Regions from separate parts of the Homo sapiens genome. Here all the other regions are linked to region 1. Evidence: promoter capture Hi-C in human tissues and cell types (Jung and others, 2019). All regions are on one chromosome and are shown on one strand. The core of a region is centred on a gene start or on the middle of the fragment in contact, and the rest is flanking DNA. Distances in the headings are between cores, read along the strand shown.

Region 1 (3,186 bases), core at 324-2,823:
TTGGTCTACAACAACTGCAACTCTTCATAACTTTACCAACACAACAAAGTCAGGCAGGCAGTCTGACAGAGTCAACGTTTGTGGGAACCTACAGCGCTTCCTTCTCTCTCTGGAGATGAGGACAATGAAAAAAGGTGTTCTGTTTTCCAGTAGTCCTGTAAGAGGAGCCATTGAGCTGGGCTGTACAACCAGACAACAGAACACAGGAAAATTCACATCAAAGCAAGGGCGCATGCCAGGGTAATATGCAATAAAACCCTCTGCCAAAGCATTAAGGGGAAAAAAAAGCAAGGAGGTAGAGAGAACCTGCTGGACTACCTTCTCATTAACACAGGGAGGCAGAAAGAAACAAAATCTGCCTGTATTCAGGAGCGGAGAAAACTGTGTCCTAGATATATTGGAGTATTCCTATAGACATGTTTATGAGCATTCGGACAAATTATCAATGAACTAAACCCAGAAAGCAGTGTCCTGTACGGTGGAGTATTCCTATGTAGACAGACATGAGAATCTTACCATTAACTAAGCCCAAAAAGGCAAAGTATTCTAGAAACACAGATATATGAGAATTTAGATGCACATTTCCAATGAATAAAACCCACTGGTTTTACAGTGAGAAAAAACTGTTTGAAATAACATCAGGTAAAGAATTGGGTAAAGGTGTGATGAAGTTATATCCCCTCCCCTTTTCCTCATACCCTTTTTGACAATCTCTGATTCTCTCATTTCATAGATGTCCCTTTCACTTGAATGCGCACACACACACACACACACACACACACACACACACACATCATTAGGTCTCCAGAAACAAAGGAGGGTCCTTAATTCTCCGGCCTGTGGAACCACACACGCCCCCTGCCCACAGATGGTGACTTTCATTAATGAGTAAGCCGAGGGAAGAGGTCTCCACCCCGACCACTGCCATGCACACTGTGACAACGGGGCACGAGACAAGCGCCACAAAGAAAGGGGAGGAGTGGACGGGGACCAGGAAAACACTGCCACGCCGCACCCCCCAAGGCGCGCGCCCACCGCCAACGCGGGGGCAGCGTCCTCGCCATCCTCCTCCTAGCCTCCCAGCTCATCCCAGCCGCCTCCCACGCCCGGGGACCCGATGCCAGGGCTTGGGCGAGCAGGACGTGCGGGGGCCCACGCACCTTCCCTCCGTGATCTCCAGGTGACAGCCCCGCTCCGCCCTTTGTGAGGGACTCACCCTCCAGTCCCGGGGCCGCGCCGGACCCTCCTCCGCGTCCCTCCTCAGCCTGGAGACACCGCCTCACCCCTGCACACCGCGCCCGGCCGGCCGAGGCGCCGGGAGAGTGTGTGTGTGTGGGAGGCTGGCGCGGGCCCGCGGTCTCCTCAGCATCCCGAACCCGGAGCGGCTCGGTCCCCCAAACCCCAGCCCGGGGGCGGCGGCCGCGGCGCTCCCGCCCTCGCTCGCTCACTTACTCGGGCGCGCCGGTGGCAGCGGCAGACGTGCGGGACCGTCAGCGCCCTGCGGCGGGCGGCAGGCTGCGGGCGGCGAGCGTCCGTCCGGACAGAGCGCGGCGGAGGTGGCGGCGGCTGACTGCGCCCGGCGGCCCCTCGCGAGGGGCGGGCCCGCCGGGGGAGGGGCGGGCGCCGCGCCTCTCATTCATGCAGCGGGGGCGGGGTGAGGGACCCGGATGCCCGGGCAGTTTCCCCACCCACCTCGGCGGAGGGCTCGGCGGCTTCAGAGTCTGCAGTGCGCAGGCGCGGCGCTCCCTGGCCAGGCCTGGTGCGGCCCTGGCCGCTGGCTCTGTTCCTGGTTAGAACTACGCCAGACAGGCCGGGCGAGGTGGCTCACGCCTGTAATCCCAGCACTTTGGGAGGCTGAGGCGGGCAGATCACGAGGTCAGGAGATCGAGACCATCTTGGCTAACGCGATGAAACCCCGTCTCTACTAAAAATACAAAAAATTAAATTAGCCGGGTGTGGTGGCGGGCGCCTGTAGTCCCAGCTACTTGGGAGGCTGAGGCAGGAGAATCGCCTGAACCTGGGAGGCGGAGCTTGCAGTGAGCCGAGATCGTGCCACTGCACACCAGCCTGGGCGACAGAGCGAGACTCTGTCTCAAAAAAAAAAAAAAAAAACAACTACTCCAGACAGACCTTCTCCATCGACCGTTTAGTATTTTTGCGTGCCCTACAAGCATTTTTAAAAGTGAAAGCATGGGGCCGGGCGCAGTGGCTCACGCCTGTAATCCCAACACTTTGGGAGGCCAAGGCGGGTGGATCACCTGAGGTCAGGAGTTCCAGACCAGCCTGACCAACATAGAGAAACTCTGTCTCTACTAAAAATACAAAATTAGCTGGGTGTGGTGGCTCATGCCTGTAATCCCAGCTACTCGGGAGGCTAAGGCAGGAAAATCTCTTGAACCCGGGGAGCGGAGGTTGCAGTGAGCCAAGATCGCACCATTGCACTCCAGCCTGGGTGACAGAGCAAGACTCCGTCTCACACACAAAAAAATGAAAGATTGGAATGCCACCCCTTTCCTAGCATGCAGATTGACAGTCCCCAGAGACACAAGAATGGTCACGTGGTGCCCATTGGTTTGATGGGGAGATGGTATGCACCGCACCCTCCTCCATCTGCCCCTCCTGCTGCAGCCTCTCAGCTGAGTGCTAGAACCTTGGTGATGGATGAGACCTAGACTCTGCCCAGATAGTGGAGAGAGGTGTGTGCAAGAAACAGTGCATTCCTTTATTTACATCCACTCCTCAACCTCCGGCTCCCATTCTACAGGGCAGGCAATAAATTGACCTCCGATTTTGGGAGGCTGAGCTCTTCCTGCAATACCAAGGCAAGGATCTGGGGAGTCCTCTCTTGTCTTTAGCAGGCAGTGTATTCTGCAGATACTCTCTTGTTCCCATCGCCTTGTGTCTGCCACTCCTGGGGTACGGAAGTTTCTGGAGAGGCTAGGAGCCTGCAGAGGGAATGGCTGTGAAGCTCCACAGCTGACTGTGTGTGCGCTGCAGCTCAGAGCTTGCAAAAATGATTGCCCCCTCTTCCTCAGTCTCCATGTGTCCCCCAGAAGTTCTCCTTCCTTCTCCTAATCTCTCAGGCCCCATCACATAAACCATAAACAGCTCAGTAGCTTAACTTTGGGAAGCAAAAGTCATCATGGCAAGCGCCTAGAGGCATGTTCCTTCTGCTTTGGCAAACCA
Region 2 (3,186 bases), core at 485-2,984, 430 kb before region 1:
GAATCTCCATTGGTGACTGTCTCTGTTGTTTCTCTTTCCATGTCCAAATGTGGGTCTCTTCCAGCATTCCATCCTTGGCTGGCAGCTGACCTTTCCCATAGTTATTCACTCCCTCAGAAAATGGATGGCACCCAGCTTTGCTTATTACCCTGGTGTCTCTAACAATGACTCTCGAGTCCACAGAAGTTAAAAGGGTTCAACCAGGTGGCCACAGATATACTTCTGGTACCCTTTCTCTCTTCCTTAGGTTTTCTAACTCTAAACGTTTCTGGGTATTCTAATCTGCTGTGGCCACGTTTATGAAACAGAAATTCACAGTCTTAATGATAAGACTGACAGATGAGAGACAACTGAAGTGTAATGTCCTTCCACAGCTATACCTCTAGATGTAGCCCAGTTAGTAGAGCCCAGATTTTTATGGAAAAACAAGAAAGGACACCTAGCCTAACCCTTAGGACAGAGGCTGGCTGGTAGAAAGCTGGAAGGAGGTGACCCCTGCAGGTGAGAAGGAGTGAATTAGGATGTCGAAGACGGAAGGGCTTTCTGTGATTTAATTAGTGCCCCCATCTGTGAGATGTAGAGGGAGATGATTAAGGGAGTGGCTCTTTGAGTGAGCTGCAGGTAAGTTTGCATGGTTGGCTGCAGGCTGGATGGGAGGGGATTTTTATAGTTGAGCCTCAGGAAGGAACCAAGGCCAGACCCTGCGAGGCCATGGCTACAATAGTAATGGATTTGAATTGTATCGTGAAGGCAAAGAAATTATTGAAGGGCCTTTAAAAAGTATTTTTAATTGTCTTTCTTTCTTTTGGATCTGTTTATTTTTAGGTCTTTTAGTAGGCATGTGTATTTTTTCCTCTCAAAAATGGAAATAGGCTGGGTGTGGTGGCTCCTGCCTGTAATCCCAGCATTTTGGGAGGCCAGTGAGGGAGGATTGCTTGAGCCCAGGAGTTCAAGACTAGCCTGGGCAACACAGGGAGACCTCGTCTCTACAAAGGAAGTTTTTTTAAAGAATTAGCCGGGCATGATGGTGGCACATACTTGTAGTTCCGGCTACTTGGGAGGCTGAGGCAAGAGGGTTGCTTGAGCCCAGGGGTTTGAGGCTGTAGTGAGCCATGATCATGTCCCTGCACTCCAGCATGGGCAACAGAGCGAGACCCTGTCTCAAAAGAAAGCAAAGGGAGGGAAATACAGTATATCTTTTGTTTTATAACTACCAAAATTAGGAATACTTACCATTTCTTGGCTAAACTTTATATTTTGATTTTTAAAACTTGTTAAAAATTGCAATGAGAAGGAAATTTCAGGAGAGCAGAAGACAGACTGTCCCAGGTGTCACTGTCCTATTATTCCCTATAAAATCCAGTGCCAGGATGGATGAATGGATAAAGCAAATGTGGTATAAGTTGAATATCCCTTATCTAAAATGCTTTGGACGAGGAGTGTTTCGAATTTTAGAATATTTGCATTATACTAACCAGTTAAGCATCCCTAATCTGGAAATCCAAAATGCTCTAGTGAACATTTTCCTTCAGCATCCATCATGTTGGCACTCAAAAAGTTTTAGATTTTGGAGTGTTTTGGATTTCAGATTAGGGATACTCAGCCTGTGTTTGGGGGTAGCCATCTCTTCATATAGACATTTCAGAACTTAAATATTGCTTTGCTATAATTTCTGTGAATTTTTGATATATTATCTTCTCTGAGCTACATTTTTATCCTTTATAAAATGGCCATATTGAAGTGATGATCTATCCTAATCTACCATGGCTGAGTCAAGGGATAAAGAGGTTTTCCTATGTCTGTGGGGTATACTTAACTTGGTGGTTTTTATCTAGAAGCTTGTTTTGGTCAAGATGTTGGTTATATTCAGGCCAGGCATGGTGGCTCATGCCTATAATCTCAACATTTTGGGAGGCCAAGGTGGGAGGATCACTTGAGCTCAGGAGTTTGAAACTAGCCAGGGCAACATGGCAAGACTCCATCTCCAAAATTTAAATTAAAAAAAGATACTATCTGTATTCATAGTTGTGTCTCTTTTGCCTTTAGTCCAAGCTCACCTTAACCCCATGGGTCGGCCTTCGGAAGATCAATGTGTCCTACTGGTGCTGGGAAGATATGTCCCCATTTACAAATAGTTTACTACAGTGGATGCCGTCTGAGCCCAGTGATGCTGGATTCTGTGGAATTTTATCAGAACCCAGTACTCGGGGACTGAAGGCTGCAACCTGCATCAACCCACTCAATGGTAGTGTCTGTGAAAGGCCTGGTAAGTTCACAGGTGAATTAGGTGGTATTCAGAGTTTATTGTGAGAGAAACCATAGGAGGCATAGTTCATTGCTGAGATGTGTGAAGTAGTCATGAAAACAGATGAAGTATTGATTTCAAGCATGCAAAGAAGAGTATAACCCAGATTTCAGAAGCAGAAGGAAATATTCTGGGACCCTGAATAGTTTTAATTATAAGCAAAACTAAAAATAACTAACACTACTCGAAGAAACTGATATTCTAATTAACAATGAGATTGATAGGTTTATTGACCAGAAAAAGTATTGAGAATTGCTCTGAAAAGCAAATTTATTGGTGTTGGCAGAGAAATGCTGTGGAAGAAGAAACAAAAAAGGAAAATAAAAACAAAGAAAAGATTAGTAAAGCAAGCAAGTGACTGCAGGGACAGTGTTCAGAAAGGTAGTGTCAACAGGGAGAAAAATGATGAGAGCAGTTCTGTAAGCGAGGACAGAAGCAACCCAGAACTACGCGAGAGCTGCAGGAGAGTACTGAGCAGACAGACACTCGGAGTAGCTTCCCAGCTTTCAGTCTCTCTGGGCTACATTTTGGCTAACTAAAGGCAGGCCCAGGGGTAGCTGCTGCAGCATGAAGACAACTCAAAATAAGCCTCCTCCTCCTGCAGAGGGACTCACAAGCAGTCGGTGGAATTGTGGATTATTTTGGGAGGCTGGACTCCATTTGCATTGTGTCCAATTTTGGGAAAGTAATTTGTCTGAGGAATTACAGAGGTATAGGAGAGAATTCATAGCATTGTAGATTTCTAAATATTGATTTCTAAACTTCTCTAGGGGAGCTGCCCAGCAGCCTTTCAGAATTCTGAATCCTTTGTTGAACTTAATGAATGCCGTAGACCTTCTTCCCTCCAAAATTGCAAACATGAGATTTTACATATTCAAGTG
Region 3 (3,186 bases), core at 305-2,804, 280 kb before region 1:
GTGAAACCCCGACTCTACTAAAAATACAAAAATTAGCCAGGCATTTTTAGGTGGCATTTTAGGCAAATTAGGTGGCGCATGCCTGTGGCCCCAGCTACTTGGGAGGCTGAGGCAGGATAATCACTTGAACCCAGGAGATGGAGATTGCAGTGAGCTGAGAACTGAGATCACGCCACTGCACTCCAGCCTGGGGGACAGAGTGAGACTCTGCCTCAAAAATAAATAAATAAATAAATAAATAAATAAATAAATAAATAAATAAATATGAAATACATGTTCTGATTCAGCAGGTCTGGGCTGGGGCCTGAGGTTCTGCATTTCTAACAAGCTTCCAGGTGATACCAATGCTGCTGATCCTCAGCCCACACTTTGAGTAACAAAGCTGTTGATGGTTTGAAATATCCTGCCTATAGCCTGGCCCCAGAACTTCATAGACAGGATCGAGCCCCTCCCATCTTAGAAAATAAATATTCTTCCTCACCTCCCTTCAGCTTTAGCGCCCTCCAACTACTGCCCTCACATGTATTCCTGATTTCAGCCAAGCTTTTCAGAAATTCTAGCTCAATATGATTGCGTCACTACACTCCAGCCTGGGCAACAGAGTGAAACTCCATCTTAAGAAAAGAAGTTCTAGCTCATGTCACCTCTTGCTCACTCCTCACCTAAGCTTACCTCCCTTGGGCCACTAAAACAGTGTTTCCAGTCTCATCTGGGGACCTTTTACAGGGATCTAGCTTTACCCATCTCTTGGTACAATCTTCATGAGACCATGAGGCATCTCAGTCTCCTGGGCCGGTATATATTCCTCTGTTCAGCCTTTAAATGTAGGTTCTCCTCGTGACAGAGTGACACCCTATCTCAAAACAAACAAACAACGAAGGCCAGGCACGGTGGCTCATGCCTGTAATCCCAGCACTTTGAGAGGCCGAGGTGGGCGGATCACCTGAGGTCAGGAGTTCGAGAACAGCCTGGCCAACACGGCGAAACCCCGTCTCTACTAAAAATACAAAAATTAGCTGGGCATGGAGGCACTCACCTGTAATCCCAGCTACTGAGGAGGCTGAGGTAGGAGAATGGCTTGAACCTGGGAGGCAGAGGTTGCAGTGAGCCAAGATCGTGCCACTGCATTCCAGCCTGGGCAACAGAGTGAGACCCTGTCTCAGAAAAAAGAAAAGACAAATTGAGTCATGCCCCCACCCCACCCTGCCACCTCAAACCTTTCAAGATTTGCTGTTGCCCTTCATATAAAATCAAATCTGAAATAGGGTGCACAGGCCCTGCCTGCAGGGTAAGCCCAGCCCAGCCCTCTGTCCAGACTTACCATGTCCTCTTCCCACCCCGCATTATCCAACTTTGACCTTCCTAGCACTCAGCAACGCTTGTCATTTCAAAATCACTTGCCTGATTATCTCCTCCATCAGACCGTTGGTTTCTAGGGCAGGGACAGTGTCTCTCTGGGTCACTATCTCCCAGCACCTGGCACAGAGCAGGCACCAGAAAACATTTAGGAGGATCCTGATTCCAAGAAAGTAAAGCCATTTTTTGACACAAGCTGGGAACTGTGGGACTTTAGATGAGATTTAAGGAATTACTGTTAATTTCATTAGACATGAGAATGGTGTTGCGATGACATTGTTTAAAACGTCTTTATCTGTTGGAGAGATGTATTAAAGAGTTCACGGGTGAAACAACATGATGGCTGGGATTTGCTTCAAAGGACTCCAGCCAAAAGTAAACAAATAAAATAAATAAGCATTCAGATGAGGGAACAAAGGGACAAATAAATCCCACTCTGCTTGTCTGTTCCTGTTGACAGCTACAGGGCCTGCAAGGATGTTGGCTGTCCCGGAGATGGGCCTGCAGGGGCTGTACATCGGTAAGAACCCCCACCATTCTGCCCTGACCCATCACCCACTCACCCGAGCAGGCACTGAGACCCACCTACAGGTTGTGCAATGTACCTCTCCCACAGAGCTTCCCAACAGCTCTTCTGTGAGTGAGTGTGTGTGTGTGTGTGCATGTGTGCAGGGCAGGTCTGTGTTTACTGGACCCCCCTGTGTGTGCAGAAAGGGTCTGTGTGCACCGGTCTGTGTATGTGAGTATGTGTGCACACAGGACTGGTCTATTCACAGGACCCTCATGTGTATATGAGTGTGGGCTGAGTGCGTGTGTTTGTGTGTGCCAGAAGGGTCTGTGCACACAGGAGTGTATGCATGTGCGTGTGTTTTGTTCAGGCTCTGTCCACAGGACCCTGTGTGAGTGTGTCAGTGAGTGTGTGTCTCTGCGGGCAGGTCTCTGTGCACGGGATCTGTGTACGGGAGTATAGTCTGCAGGTGGGCATGCATACAGAGAGTTCTGCGTGTGCATGGAGGGTCTGTGTGCACAGGAGTGTTTGAATGTCCATGTGTTTTGTTCAGGCCATGTGCACAGGACCCCGTGTGAGTGCATCAGTGAGTGTGTGTCTCTGCGGGCAGGTCTCTGTGCACAGGATCTGTGTACGGGAGTATAGTCTGCAGGTGGGCACGCATGCAGAGAGTTCTGCGTGTGCATGTGCGTCTGGCCATAGCCTGGTCTGGGAGCAGGCTTGGGTTCTCCGCAGGGGTGGGAGGCCGGAGGCAAGAGGGACACTCCTCAGGAAGTCCATTCACAAAGACCTGGTGGGCTGGGCCCTTCCTTCCTGCCTCCCTTCCCAAGCTCGAGCCACAGCAACTTGGCCTCTCGGGCTGCAGCTGGTGGCAGGGCTGGAGCCTGCCCTGGCTGCCTGAGGAGAGGGAGCCCTTGAAATGTGGCCACTTTTTCCCTGCCCCTCCAGCACCTCAGACTCTGGCCCTGTCCAGGCGCTTCCCAGAGTCCCCCTCATGCCTGGCCCTTCGCCTGTGTTCCCAGGTTACCCCCAAGGCCAGGGAGAGTGGAGACCTGCCTGGCAGCACGTGACAGGACTGTGGCTGAGGGAGCACAGGGCCTGCCTGGCTCAGCCTAAGGCGAGCCAGACCTGCCTGATTTGTCCATGGAGCTTCCTACCAGATCTCACTCTCCCTCCCTAGCCAGCCTCCCTGGCCTGTCCATGGATATCAAGGCTGCCCCAGTACTCCTCACATGCCCCTTAGCAATGCCCAGTGTGGTGGTGGCAGCTACCAGCCAGGCAGGCCCTCCTGCCCCATAAGCCGCCTGATCCTCGGGGCGAGG

What was found. Contacts are between HindIII fragments. The study calls those that stand out against the background at their distance.
Region 2: a fragment that was not itself captured here is called in contact with the fragment with the promoter of RNF24 in region 1 in 1 of the 25 tissues and cell types used here (mesenchymal stem cells).
Region 3: a fragment that was not itself captured here is called in contact with the fragment with the promoter of RNF24 in region 1 in 2 of the 25 tissues and cell types used here (lymphoblastoid cells and spleen).

What each region holds. Positions count from the first base shown.
Region 1 is chr20:4,013,985-4,017,170 of GRCh38, forward strand. RNF24 (ring finger protein 24) reads right to left here and starts at 1,574. Exons shown (of 6, transcript NM_001134337.3): 1 at 1,453-1,574. RefSeq lists a silencer at 1,081-1,680 and enhancers at 1,564-2,496, 2,700-3,186. The HindIII fragment of the contact is 8,027 bases long and covers 1-3,186 here.
Region 2 is chr20:3,580,089-3,583,274 of GRCh38, forward strand. It overlaps ATRN (attractin), which reads left to right. Exons shown (of 29, transcript NM_139321.3): 16 at 2,047-2,266. Among named protein-coding and RNA genes, the nearest start is that of GFRA4, 82 kb to the right of the region's middle. The HindIII fragment of the contact is 8,776 bases long and covers 1-3,186 here.
Region 3 is chr20:3,736,842-3,740,027 of GRCh38, forward strand. It overlaps HSPA12B (heat shock protein family A (Hsp70) member 12B), which reads left to right. Exons shown (of 13, transcript NM_052970.5): 2 at 1,817-1,876. The coding sequence starts at 1,834. Among named protein-coding and RNA genes, the nearest start is that of HSPA12B, 5.8 kb to the left of the region's middle. The HindIII fragment of the contact is 4,231 bases long and covers 1-3,186 here.